Regions from separate parts of the Homo sapiens genome. Here region 2 is linked to region 1. Evidence: promoter capture Hi-C in 16 types of primary human blood cells and fetal thymus (Javierre and others, 2016). All regions are on one chromosome and are shown on one strand. Each heading gives the region's core, a stretch centred on a gene start or on the middle of the fragment in contact. The rest is flanking DNA. Distances are from core to core; before and after follow the strand shown.

Region 1 (5,915 bases), core at 974-3,473:
AGGCAGATATAGACTTTTGCACAATGAGCAACTCATGTCCTTTCATTAGAGTTAAAATAAATATTGAAAGGTTTGTTCCCACAGCCCTTGCCCAGATAGGCAAATTCTGTGGCTTTTTTGTTGTGCTATTATTATTGACCAGGAAGCCACCATTAAAAAGGTACTTGGTTCTTGACTTTTTTATTTTTTATTTTTAAAGAAACAGGGTCTTGCTTTGTTGCCCAGGCTGGTCTTAAACTCCTGGGCTCCAGCCATCCTCTGGCTTCATTCTCCCAAAGTGCCAAGATTACAAGCATGAGCCACCACACCTGGGCTTGACTCCCCATCTTAACACTGCACAGGTTTTTAGTGGTATTCGGAAACAAACAAAAATCACTGCATGAGTGTTCCATTCATATAAAAGAATTAAATATGATGATTCAACTAAGAGTAGAACCTTCCCTTGAAGTCTTCTTCCTTAAGGGTCTGAAACAAACATCGTAGTTGAGTCTACCAGACACTATTCCTTCACAACTTAGTACAGGCTAGCCAAAGAGGCAGGCACAACATGGCTGGCATCCCTTATTCTTCTGAAAAATGTGTGCCAATGAGCTCTGCATTGTTCCTCACTCAAAAAGAAGAGCCTTTCTCTCTGGCCTCCTCCAATGGCAAGCCCCAGTCTGGAAAAGGAAGAAAATGGCACTGAGGAGCCTGGGAGATGGAGCATATCCAAAGCTCTCAGACAAGACTTGAACCTATGACCTTCACTGTGTACACAATAGGCGGGTGAGAGGGACCGGTTTATCTCTGCTGCAGCAGTTCTCAGCCCTGGGGTAGCGCTCCCGATAAAATGACACGACTATTGTGTGTGGCAGCAGAACAGTCATCTCCTCACAACAGCCTAAACCAGCACTCCCTCCCCCAAGACAAAGCAGCAGGGGTGAAATTAACTCAAGGCTGCAGAGCAAAGCCTAATACAGAAAAGGGAGGCCTGTAGGGGCTTGGGGACTCTCCTCAACCCCTTAGGCTCTGGACACATGGCTGGAAACAGACAGGCTTTCTTCCCTATCTTTCTCACTCTCATTTAGGTAGGGAGCTGTTTCTTAGAGAATTTAATCATCCGTGATTTGTTCAGAAATATTCCCCCTGAAGGGCTCTGATCTCTCCACCCTGTGTGAGCCTAATTCCTCGAAGCTGAAATGACTGTTTGCTGCTGCCTGTTTCACAAACACACATTAATTGGTCAGATGTGTCTCCTCCTCCTCAACCCCAGAGGGAGGAAGGAGAATCTGAGCAAAGCACAGAGATGATCCAACCGTAATTACACATAAAGGGAAAAGAGGGCAGCATGGGTTTTCCAAACAGGATAGGGTCACAAACCCTCCCGGGGGTACAAGGATAGCAGTTGAGGTCCAGGCCCAGGGATCCCTCCATCTTGAAGAAAAGGACAGGAGTAAATGTGACCTGAAGACTGTTAGGGGCACACACCCACAACCTACTTACTGCAGGATCCCAGCCACCTTGCTCCCCACTCCTAGGTCACGCACACGTCCTGCTTCCGACCCTATGCTCTGAACAACCACCACCGCCCCCGCCCCCCCTCCCCCGCCAACTCCCTGACTGGCCCCAGTCGCCCCGAGCGCCCTCAACATACCCAGACTCGCCTCAGAAACTCTCTGGCCTGCTCCCATAACCTAGCCAGACCCTAATCCCCTCCCGGGCACCCCTACCCTCAGCCTGAACCGGCCGTGGCCACGCTTTGAACTTCACCCCGCGCCCCTCGACGCCCCCTCCCCCACCCACGCAACGACCCCCCCTACACACCTTCCCCTCGCTCCGCCCCAGCCCCCCCAACCCCCACTTCCTCCGTCAGGCAGCGCCGCCGCCCCCGGCCCCCATCAGATCCCCTCAGCCCCGCGCCCCATCGGTGCCGCCGCCTCTTTCCTCCCCCAGTCCCGGCTCCACACAAAGCTCCGGACTCACCGCGCGGCCGGTCCCGGGAGCCGCCACCTCCGCCCGCCCGGGGCCCCGGGCCGTAGAGCCGCCGCTGCTACGGGGCCCAGGCCGCCATCCGTTCCCGCGGCCCCTCCCCCCCACCCCACCCCGGCTCCGGCTCCGGCTCCGGCTCTGGCTCTCTGCCCCCTCCCCGCGCCTCTCCGCCCCGCCCGGCCGGTGCCGCTGTGTCCGGGGCCGCGGGTCCCTCAGCCGCCGCCACCGCCGCCGCCGCCGCGATCCGGGACAACCAGAGTCACCCGGAAGACGCGGACACTGGACTGCCAGGCCCTCGGATCCGGATTCCGCGCTTGTGTGGAGTCTGGAGCCGGTGAGCGCAGGGGAAACCCGGAACCTGGATGAAGGAGCGAAATCCTGGGTCTCGGAATGCGCGCTCACCCGGAGCCCAGATTAGGGAGTCTTAGCTCAGGGAATGCTGGAAAACCCGGCGTGCCGGTTAGAACCAAGATAAACTCAAAGAAACCTGGATTAGAGAGCTCGAACCTAACGCTGTCCCCTCGTGGGCAGTAGAACTCTCGCTGGATCAGACTTCCTCATAGAGAGGTCTCTGGGGGGAGTATTGCACCTTATAACACAGAAGACACCTCTTCTGTAGTTGTCCTTCAACCACAGAGAGGAAAGGGCCGTAGGGGATCTGAACATGGGCATCCACAAAGAACAGAAGAGCAATCACAGCTCCTGATGGTTTCATCCATTTTACCCCTTAGTTCAGCAAAGTACCAACCTCCTAATTTTTTATCCTTTGTTCTCCAGCTTTCTCTTTTAGGATTACCACTTGCTTTTCTCCCCAAAGCACCCATTTCTAATCCCTCTATATATCCCTTTTCCCCTCACCATCCTCTATCACTAAATCTTGTTGCCTTTTATTATCTAAAAACCTTATTCTGTCCTTCTCCAACCCACCATTCTAAGGATTGTAGCTTTTATTTTTCCTTATCTGCTATTCATCTCTGATTGCCCAGCATACTATCTAGTGCACAGTAGGCATTCAGTCCATGTTTAAGTGAGCCCTCCCACCCAGCTTTCACTTGTGAAACATCTATTCATGACGACCTCCTAAGACTTCCATCTCATTCCATAGCAAACAAATTTACCTTAATTCTCAAGGCCTCCCACATCCTAGCCCCTATTATGTCCTTCCTGTGTCCTTGACCATTTTATTTTGCTTTGCATTTATCTTACCTTTTTTCCCTTATCCTGGGGCATCCTTCAACAGTGCCACTCAAGATAGCATGTGACTTGGAGATAAAGTGAGGTCATAAAAAGGTGGGGGGAGGGGTTGATAGCTAAAGATAAAAGTAAACCTTTCTGGTCTAGGAAAAATAATCTCTCTTTGGTCCACCAATAGTCATGTTGTTAGACAGTACAGGGGCAGAACTGATCCCAGGTGACAGCGAACTTCCAATGTATACTAGACAAAGTTACAAGTGAGGATTCAGCTACTTAGCAGGTGGAGACAGAGAAGGGTTTAGTGTTTTAGACTTAGGCATGATTTAATTAAGGATTAAACATTCCAGTAGTCATCTCCCACTGAAGGAGCATGACTCTGCCATTGGAGAGAACTAGACTGCAAAAATAGGGAACAAAGGAAGGTAAACATTCCTGCAGTGAACTCCAAGTTTCAGCCAGAGAAAGTTCTCAAGCCTCGAAGAACCACTAAAAATTTTCAAGTGATCAGATGTCCCACATAGTAAACAAACCTTAAGTTTTGATTTACTGTTCCTCTAGACCAAGGGTTGGCAAACTGCATCTCACAGGTCAAATCAGGCTCACCACCTGTTTTAACATGTCCCATGAGCTAGAATGATTTTTACATTTTTAAACAGTTAAATAATCAAAATACTATTTCATGATGTGAAAATGATATGAAATTCAAATTTCAGGCCAGGTGCGGTGGCTCACGCCTGTAATCTCAGCACTTTGGGAGGCTGAGGCGGGCGGATCACGTGAGGTCGGGAATTCGAGACCAGGCTGACCAACATGGAGAAACCCCGTAAAAATACAAAAGTAGCCGGGCGTGGTGGTACATGCTTGTAATCCCAGCTACTTGAGAGGCTGAGGCAGGAGAATCGCTTGAACCCGGGAGGCGGAGGTTGCAATGAGCCGAAATCTTGCCACTGCACTCCAGCCTGGGCAACAAGAATGAAACTGTCTTAAAATACAAACAAAAAAATAGTTTTATTGGCTCTAGCCAAGCTCATTCATTTACATTATCATCTATAGATGCATTTTTACTACAACAGCAGAGTTGAACAGTTGAAACAAGGACTGCATGGCCTGTGTAAAGCCTAAAATATTTGCTATCTGACCCTTTACAGAAAGTTTGCCAACCCCTGCTCCAGACAAGCACTATCCAACAGAACTTTTTGCAGCGATGGAAATGTTCTATATCTGTGCTGTCCAATGCAGAAGTCGCTAGCCACATGTAGCTATTTGAGCACTTGAAATATGGTCAACAGTGACTGAATAACTGAATCCTTAATTTCATATAATTGAGATTTTCATAACCACAAGTGGCTAGTGGCTACCATAATAGACAGTACAGCTCTAGACTCTTAAATCTTCTGTACTGATGTTTTTTTTTCTCCTTATGCCACTATCTCACTCCCTTCCTGTGACATTCCTCTATGGATTCTCAGGAACTCCCCACCACCCCACTGTTCCACAGTCCCACTCACTATATACACATCCATTTTTCTGACCTCAAGCTAGGGTACACTTACTAGGTTGTCTCTCTGGACTCTCCATTGTCACAAATGAAGTCTGAAAATGGATCAGGTTATCAGTTGTCACCCTATGAATTAAGCCACATTATGTACATACACATAAATGGACATTTACACAAGTTCATTTGTGTCAGAGGATGGCACTGAGGCTGTATTCTTTCTTCTCTGCATGAGAGAAGTAGAAAAGCCCTCCACATGCTGGATGCCTTGTTGCTGCTGGTGCCTGTGGTATGGATCACCTCCCTCCGAACACATTCACAGAAGCTCAGAGCAGCAGATGTATGCTTGGCTACTTGAATCTCTAGGAAAAAAAATTCCTTCATCATTGGATTTTCTGTCCCTCCCCAGGCCTAACAAACTGAAGTTCACTGATTTCTTTAGTTTAATAGATGCTTGCTGTTTACTCGTCTTTTTGAGCTGACTTTTTGAGAATAACTCCCATGCTGTCTTGATCTTGGCTAGGTGCATTTTTAAAATTTACTAAATTAAATGAAATCCACATAAATGGGCTTTGAAGTCTAAATTTTTCACACTTACTTCCTAGGAAAAAATGAATTTATGTAAACTTCTGACTTAAAAGAGGGGATACCTAGTTTTCTTTTTCCAGATTAGCTATAGCAAGAAACAAACAAAAACCCTTACTCTATTCCAAACATCTAACTGCAAAGCCAAGGCTTCCTACATTTGATCTTAGCCAAAAGGCCGAGAAGCAATAAAGCCAAGGCTTCCTAAACCCCGTCAGAGAAAGTCTCCAGTTTCATATATCCCCCTACTCTGACTTTATATAAATGAGACTGAGTCCTGCCTGGAAAAACAAAAACAAAAACAAAAACAAAAAAGCTGAAACCTTTAGGCACTATACAAATTGACAGCAATTGAACCCAACTATTCAAAAGTGGGTACAGATATTTAGACTGCAACAAAAAACCAGCTCAGAAATGTGAAACTTCCTTTAGGCCACACTGTCCCAGAGTTACACAGTCAGAGCAAAGTGTTGTAAAGTCCTAAAAGGCTATTCCTGGGCAAGTTTGCACTCAGGCTGCTAAGAATTTCCACTAGGCTTTAAATTGTGCTATTCATCACTGAGCAACTGAAGGCCATCTACCCCCAAGTTTCTCCCACACTTCCTCCCTGGTGTCTCCACAAATAAAAGAGAGACCTTATACCACCACCACCATATGAACTAAAGACAGACTT
Region 2 (5,915 bases), core at 2,058-4,557, 260 kb before region 1:
TTTGTTGGTTGATCTGATGTTTGGTATGTTGGGAGATCTGGTATTTGGTATATTGTCTTGATGTGTAAAAATCTCTGGGAATTCAAACAGAAACAGTTTGAAATAGTGATTTCAATATTGAGAAAGTGAATGACTCAAATGACTGTATTATAGATCCTTTCTACAAACTAAAGCTTTCCCAATATTTTGCTTTTGAATGGAAGGACCTGAAACAAATTTTGTTGTCATCTGCTTGATGATTAGGTGGTATTGAGTGACTCTGCTAGAACTTCTTCCTTTCCCAGGTACTTATGTGAATAAGATACCTCAGCATTACCATGTGTGAGATTGAAACGTTGAAATAAAATTGAGCCTAGCCAGGTGTGGCGGTATGTACCTGTAGTCCCAGCTACTCAGGAGACTGAGGCAGGAGGATCACTTGAGCCTAGAAGTTTGAGGCTGCAGTGAACTACGATCATGCCTGTGAATAGCTACTGCACTCCAGCCTGGGCAACACAGTCAGACTGTCTCAAAAAAAAAAAAAAAAAAAAAAGACAACAATAACAACGAAAACACAGCCTAAGCATAATGGCTCATACCTGTAATCCCAGCACTTTGAGAGGCCAAGGCTTGAGCCCAGGAGACCAGCCTGGGCAACAAAGTGAGTCCCTGTCTCTACAAAAAATTAGTTGAGCATGGTCATGCACACCTGTATTCCCATGTACGTGGGAGGCTGAGGCAGGAGACTGCCTGAGCCCAAGAGGTCGAGGCTGCAGTGAACCACATTTGCACCACTGCACTCCAGCCTAGGCAACAGAGCAAGACTCTGTCTCAGAAAAACAACCAACCAGCCAACAAAAACATTGATGCTTATCACTGTCTCACTCTAGCATGAGAACATCTCTCTCAATATAAGTTGTATTTCCTATACAATTTTGTGTCTTATATTTAAGAATTCTTGGCCGGGTGCAGTTGCTCACGCCTGTAATCCTAGCTAGCACTTTGGGAGTCTGAGGTGGGTGGATCACCTGAGGTCAGGAGTTTGAGACTAGCCTGACCAACATGGAGAAACCCTGTCTCTACTAATAATACAAAAATTAGCTGGGCGTGGTGGTGCATGCCTATAATCCCAGCTACTCGGGAGGCTGAGGCAGGAGAATCGCTGGAACCCGGGAGGCAGAGCTTGCGGTGAGCTGATATCGCGCCACTGCACTCCAGTCTGGGCAACAAGAGTGAAACTCCATCTTGGGGGAAAAAAAAAATGCTGGGCGCAGTGGCTCACGCCTATAATCCCAGCACTTTGGGAGGCTGAGGTGGGTGGATCACCTGAGGTCAGGTGTTCAAGATCTGCCTGGCCAACATGGTGAAACCCTGTCTCTGCTCAAAATTCAAAAATTAGCTGGGCGTGGTGGCAGGCACCTATAATCCCAGCTACTGGGGAGGCTGAGGCTGGAGAATCGCTTGAACCCGGGAGGCGGAGATTGCTGTAAGCTGAGATTGTGCCATTGCACTCCAGCCTGGGCTGGGCAACACAGCAAGACTGCATCTCAAAAAAAAAAAAAAAAAAAAAAAAGGGATAAAGTACATATTGTATTAGGAAAGCATTATGTGAGAGAAGTAAAAAGAAAATACAAGTTCAAGGAGAAAAAGGAGTGATGTAAAATTTCCTGTGCTAAAGAACAGCTTACTTTTTCTTTTTTTCTTTCTTTCTTTTTTTTTTTTTTTTGAGAGGGAGTCTCACTCTGTCGCCCAGGCTAGAGTGCAGTGGCATGATCTTGGCTCACTGCAACTTCCGACACCTGGGTTCAAGCGATTCTCTTGCCTCAGCCTCCCAAGCAGCTGGGATTACATGCACACGCCACCACGCCTGGCTATTTTTTGTATTTTTAGTAGAGACAGGGTTTCACCATGTTGGCCAGGCTGGTCTCAAACTCCTGACCTCAAGTGATCCGCCCGCCTCTGCCTCTCAAAGCGCTGGGATTACAGGCGTGAGCCACTGCACCTGGCCTCTTTTTCTTTCTTTTTTTTGAGACAGAGTCTCACTCTGTCACCCAGGCTGGAGTGCACTGGGTTGATCTCAACTCACTGCAATCTCTGCCTCCGAGGTTCAAGCAATTCTAATGCCTCAGCCTCCTGAGTTGTTGGGATTACAGGTACGCATCACCATGCCCGGCTAATTTTTGTACTTTTAGTAGAGATGGGGTTTTGCTTTGTTGGCCAGGCTGGACTCAAACTCCTGGCCTCAAGCAATCTGCCCACTGCCTCGGCCTCCCATAGTGCTGGGATTACAGGCATGAGTCACTGTGTCCAGCTTCAATATTTCTAATACAAAAAAAAATTGCAAAGAAATCACATCCTTCGAAACTGTTTTTATATTTTTTTGTAGAGACAGGGTCTCAGTCTATCACTCAGGCTGGAATGCAGTGGTATGATCATTATTCACTGTAACCTTGAGCACCTGGCCTCAAGCAATCCTCCCACCATAGCCTCCCAAAGTGCTTGGATTACAGATATGTCCCACTGTGCCCAGCCTTTTGCAACTATTTAAACATGGTTAAAATTTTTTTTAAATCAAATTTTAAAATTTCCCCTTTTTTTTTTTTTTTGAGACAGAGTTTTGCTCTTGTCTCCCAGGTTGGAGTGCAATGGTGTGATCCCTACTCACTGCAACCTCCGCCTCCTGGGTTCAAGCGATTCTTTGGCCTCACCCTCCCGAGTAGCTGGGATTACAGGCACCTGCCACCACGCCCGGCTAATTTTTGTATTTATAGTAGAGACGGGGTTTCACCATGTTGTCCAGGCTGGTCTTGAACTCCTGACCTCAGGTGATCCACCCACCTCGGCCTCCCAAAGTGCTGGGATTACAGGCGTGAGCCACCATGCCCAGCCTAAAAACTTCACTTTTAAAACAAGCTTTATTGAAGGGGTACATAATTTTTAAAAATGTTTAGGGTATGCATGAGCTAAATTATTGAAAGACTACAGTCTTGAGAGATGAGCTAGAGGTTGCTTGACAAAGGAGGAGGAGAAAGACGTTCTTTGTAGGAGAAAGAGGGTTCTGTGAGTGGACTTGTTCATGGAAGGGAGTAATCTGAGATAAACTGGAAATGTATCCATCCTGGGCAACAGAGAGATACCCTATCTCTACAAAAAATACAAAAAGTAGCTGGGCATGGTGGCATGTACCTGTAGTCCCAGCTACTCAGGAGGCTAAGGCAGGGTGTATCACCTGAGCCCAGGAGGTGGAGGTTGCAGTGAGCTGAGATCACGCTATTGCACTCCAGCCTGGGCACTGGAGTGAGACCATGTCTTAAAAAAAAAAAAAAAAAAGGCCAGGCGTGGTGGCTCACGCCTGTAATCCCAGCACTTTGGGAGGCCGAGGCAGGTGGATCACGAGGTCAGGAGATCGAGACCATCCTGCCTAACACAGTGAAACCCTGTCTCTACTAAAAATACAAAAAAAAAAAAAAAAAAAAAAAATTAGCTGGGCGTGGTGGCAGGTGCCTGTAGTCCCAGCTACTCAGGAGGCTGAGGCAGGAGAATGGTGTGAACTCGGGAGGCGGAGCTTGCAGCCTGGGTGACAAGAGTGAGACTCCGTCTCAAAAAAAAAAAAAAAAAAAACCTGGAAATGTAAGTTGGGGTCAGACTCACAGGAACTAGGCTGAGGCATTTCTGTTTATTATTAATTTTAATTACGCAAGTTTTGCATGATTACAATCTCCTTGTAAAAAACTGAAGCTTTATGAATAGGCCTGGGACTGTCACTTCCATTTCTGGTCTCCAGAGGTGACCTTGGTTTTCAGTTGATGCAAGTTCATCTGGCACATGCTGCAGGTCTCTCTGTGACAGAATGTCCGAGCTAAGGAGTTTTAGCTTCTTCACAGGGTCATTGGCAACCAGGGGCTGGGGTGGAGCTGAGAATTTCTACAGGACTTATTACTCCTTTGTGTTTTGCAACTGGGGTTGCTCACTTAGATAATAAGAGTTGTGATTTGGGAGTGAGGGAAGGAGTTGGGGGTAATTTTGGCGCAAGGCCTGTGACACTGTATTGTCAGCAGCTGTCATTAAGCACTGTGCCACTGGAAGGTAGAAGGGAGGGTGCAGAAAAGCTGATGGGAGGACATGAAATCCCATCTTTATTTGCTTATAGATAGGCCTGGCTGGGGTAGAAATGTGCTCGCTACAAACAGTGGCCCTCTTAGTTTCTTTCGTGTCCCCACTTTTTTTTTTTTTTTTTTTTAGTAGAGATGGGGTTTCTCCATGTTGCCCAGTTTGGTCTTAAACTCCTGGGCTCAAGTGATCCACCTGCCTCGGCCTCCCGAAGTGCTGGGATTACAGGCGTGAGCCACCACACCTGGCCATATCCCCACTTTTGAATGAGACGAGGGTACAGAAAACAGTGTAATAACCATTCAAGTGTGATGAGCAACAGCAACTCATACTCGGCCTCACTGCTGGAGACAATACAGAGTGGTGTGGACAGTGGCAAAATGGACAGTCCAAGGTCTTTCTAAAGGGTGGTCATTATTCAGCCCCATCAGCTGTGGTCCTGGGGCCATATGCATCAATGTTAGCCATATCGTCTGATTTTTCAAGAGACTGTAGAAATTGGGATTTTTTTTTTTTTTTTTTTTTTGAGACGGAGTTTCGCTCTGTCGCCCAGGCTGGAGTGCAGTGGTGTGATCTCAGCTCACGGCAACCTCCGCCCCCCAGGTTCAAGCGATTCTCCTGCCTCAGCCCCCCAAGCAGCTGGGTAGCTGGGACTGCAGGCATGGACCACCACACCTGGCTAATTCTTGTATTTTTAGTAGAGACGGGGTTTTGTCATGTTGGCCAGGCTGGTCTTGAACTCCTGACCTCAGGTGATCCACCTGCCTCGGCCTCCCAAAGTACTGGGATTATAGGCCTGAGCCACCTCACCCAGCCTCGGCTCAAACATTTCTTAAATGCTGTGTTGGCCAAATAAGCCATGTGCCTGCGGGCTGCATTTGGCCTATGGGCTGTTAGTTTGTGTTCTCTGTTTCAGAGTTTCTTGTCTTTGTATATCATCCCCGGCATGCCACTGGCTCTACGATCTACGTGGCTGTGGAGGATCCTGGCCTTCTTAGGTAGATGCTGTGAGAATGGCTGACTTCACTCCCCATGTCTAGTTTGCACCCATATTCTGATATCCAGTTAGTAATAGAGCTCTGCCAAGAAGCTGAGGGCTTAGCAGAAGGTTCCAGAAGCATCCCAGGGAAGTCAGTCAATCTAGATTCATTAGACGCCAAGACCCCTCCAGGGATTTGGTCCTGAGGCCTTCAGAGTCTTTCTCTCAGGCGTCAGGGCGGGTTCTTGTGCCTCTCCCAGGACAGAGCCCAGTGGGAACACAGGTTGGTGACTGTTTCTCAAAGGGCTTTGTCCTGTGACTGAAGCCAAGCAAGGGAGTCAGACACATGAAAACACACACACACACACACACACACACACACACACACACACACACCATCCCCCATACTTCCCAGACCTTTTCCCACGCAGTCCCAGGGCGGCCAGAAGGGCAGCTGGTCGTGGGAATGAACCGCAGCCTCCTCCCCCACTGGCAGCTCCACCCCGCTCCATCTACTCCTGGCCGTGCTGTCCCACCCCCAACCCCCTTATTACTTCCAGAGAAGGAAGTAGCAGAACAATGTGGCACATCAGAGAATGGGCACAGAGCCCAGAGCCCCGTGCCCAGGATGGGTCCCCAGCAGGCCGTGGGCTCTGATCCCTGGCTGCCCCGCTCCTGCTCAGGCGGCTTCCCCAAGGTGGCTTCCTAGACCTTCTCTCCATCTCTGGAAGCTCGGCATGGCGGCCACTCTTCTGCCTTTCCGAGGTTGGCCTCTTCCCCGTTGTGCGGTAGCCAGCGTGTGACCTACTTCCTTCCGTCCTTCCTCACCCACACTCCCCACACTCCA

Evidence for each region. The method cuts DNA at HindIII sites, captures the fragments that hold promoters and counts their contacts. A CHiCAGO score of 5 or more calls a contact.
Region 2: a fragment that was not itself captured here is called in contact with the fragment with the promoter of ZNF609 in region 1 in 1 of 17 cell types (activated CD4 T cells); the score reaches 6.0 in activated CD4 T cells.

The regions. Positions count from the first base shown.
Region 1 is chr15:64,456,886-64,462,800 of GRCh38, reverse strand. It overlaps ZNF609 (zinc finger protein 609), which reads right to left and starts at 2,223. Exons shown (of 10, transcript NM_015042.2): 1 at 1,963-2,223. LOC105370861 (a long non-coding RNA gene) reads left to right here and starts at 2,214. Exons shown (of 3, transcript XR_932367.3): 1 at 2,214-2,302. RefSeq lists silencers at 1,892-1,991, 2,052-2,171 and an enhancer at 2,632-2,701. The HindIII fragment of the contact is 12,937 bases long and covers 1-5,915 here.
Region 2 is chr15:64,718,303-64,724,217 of GRCh38, reverse strand. LOC124903507 (a long non-coding RNA gene) reads right to left here. Exons shown (of 3, transcript XR_007064679.1): 3 at 3,649-5,915. Among named protein-coding and RNA genes, the nearest start is that of OAZ2, 18 kb to the right of the region's middle. RefSeq lists an enhancer at 5,651-5,915. The HindIII fragment of the contact is 825 bases long and covers 2,895-3,719 here.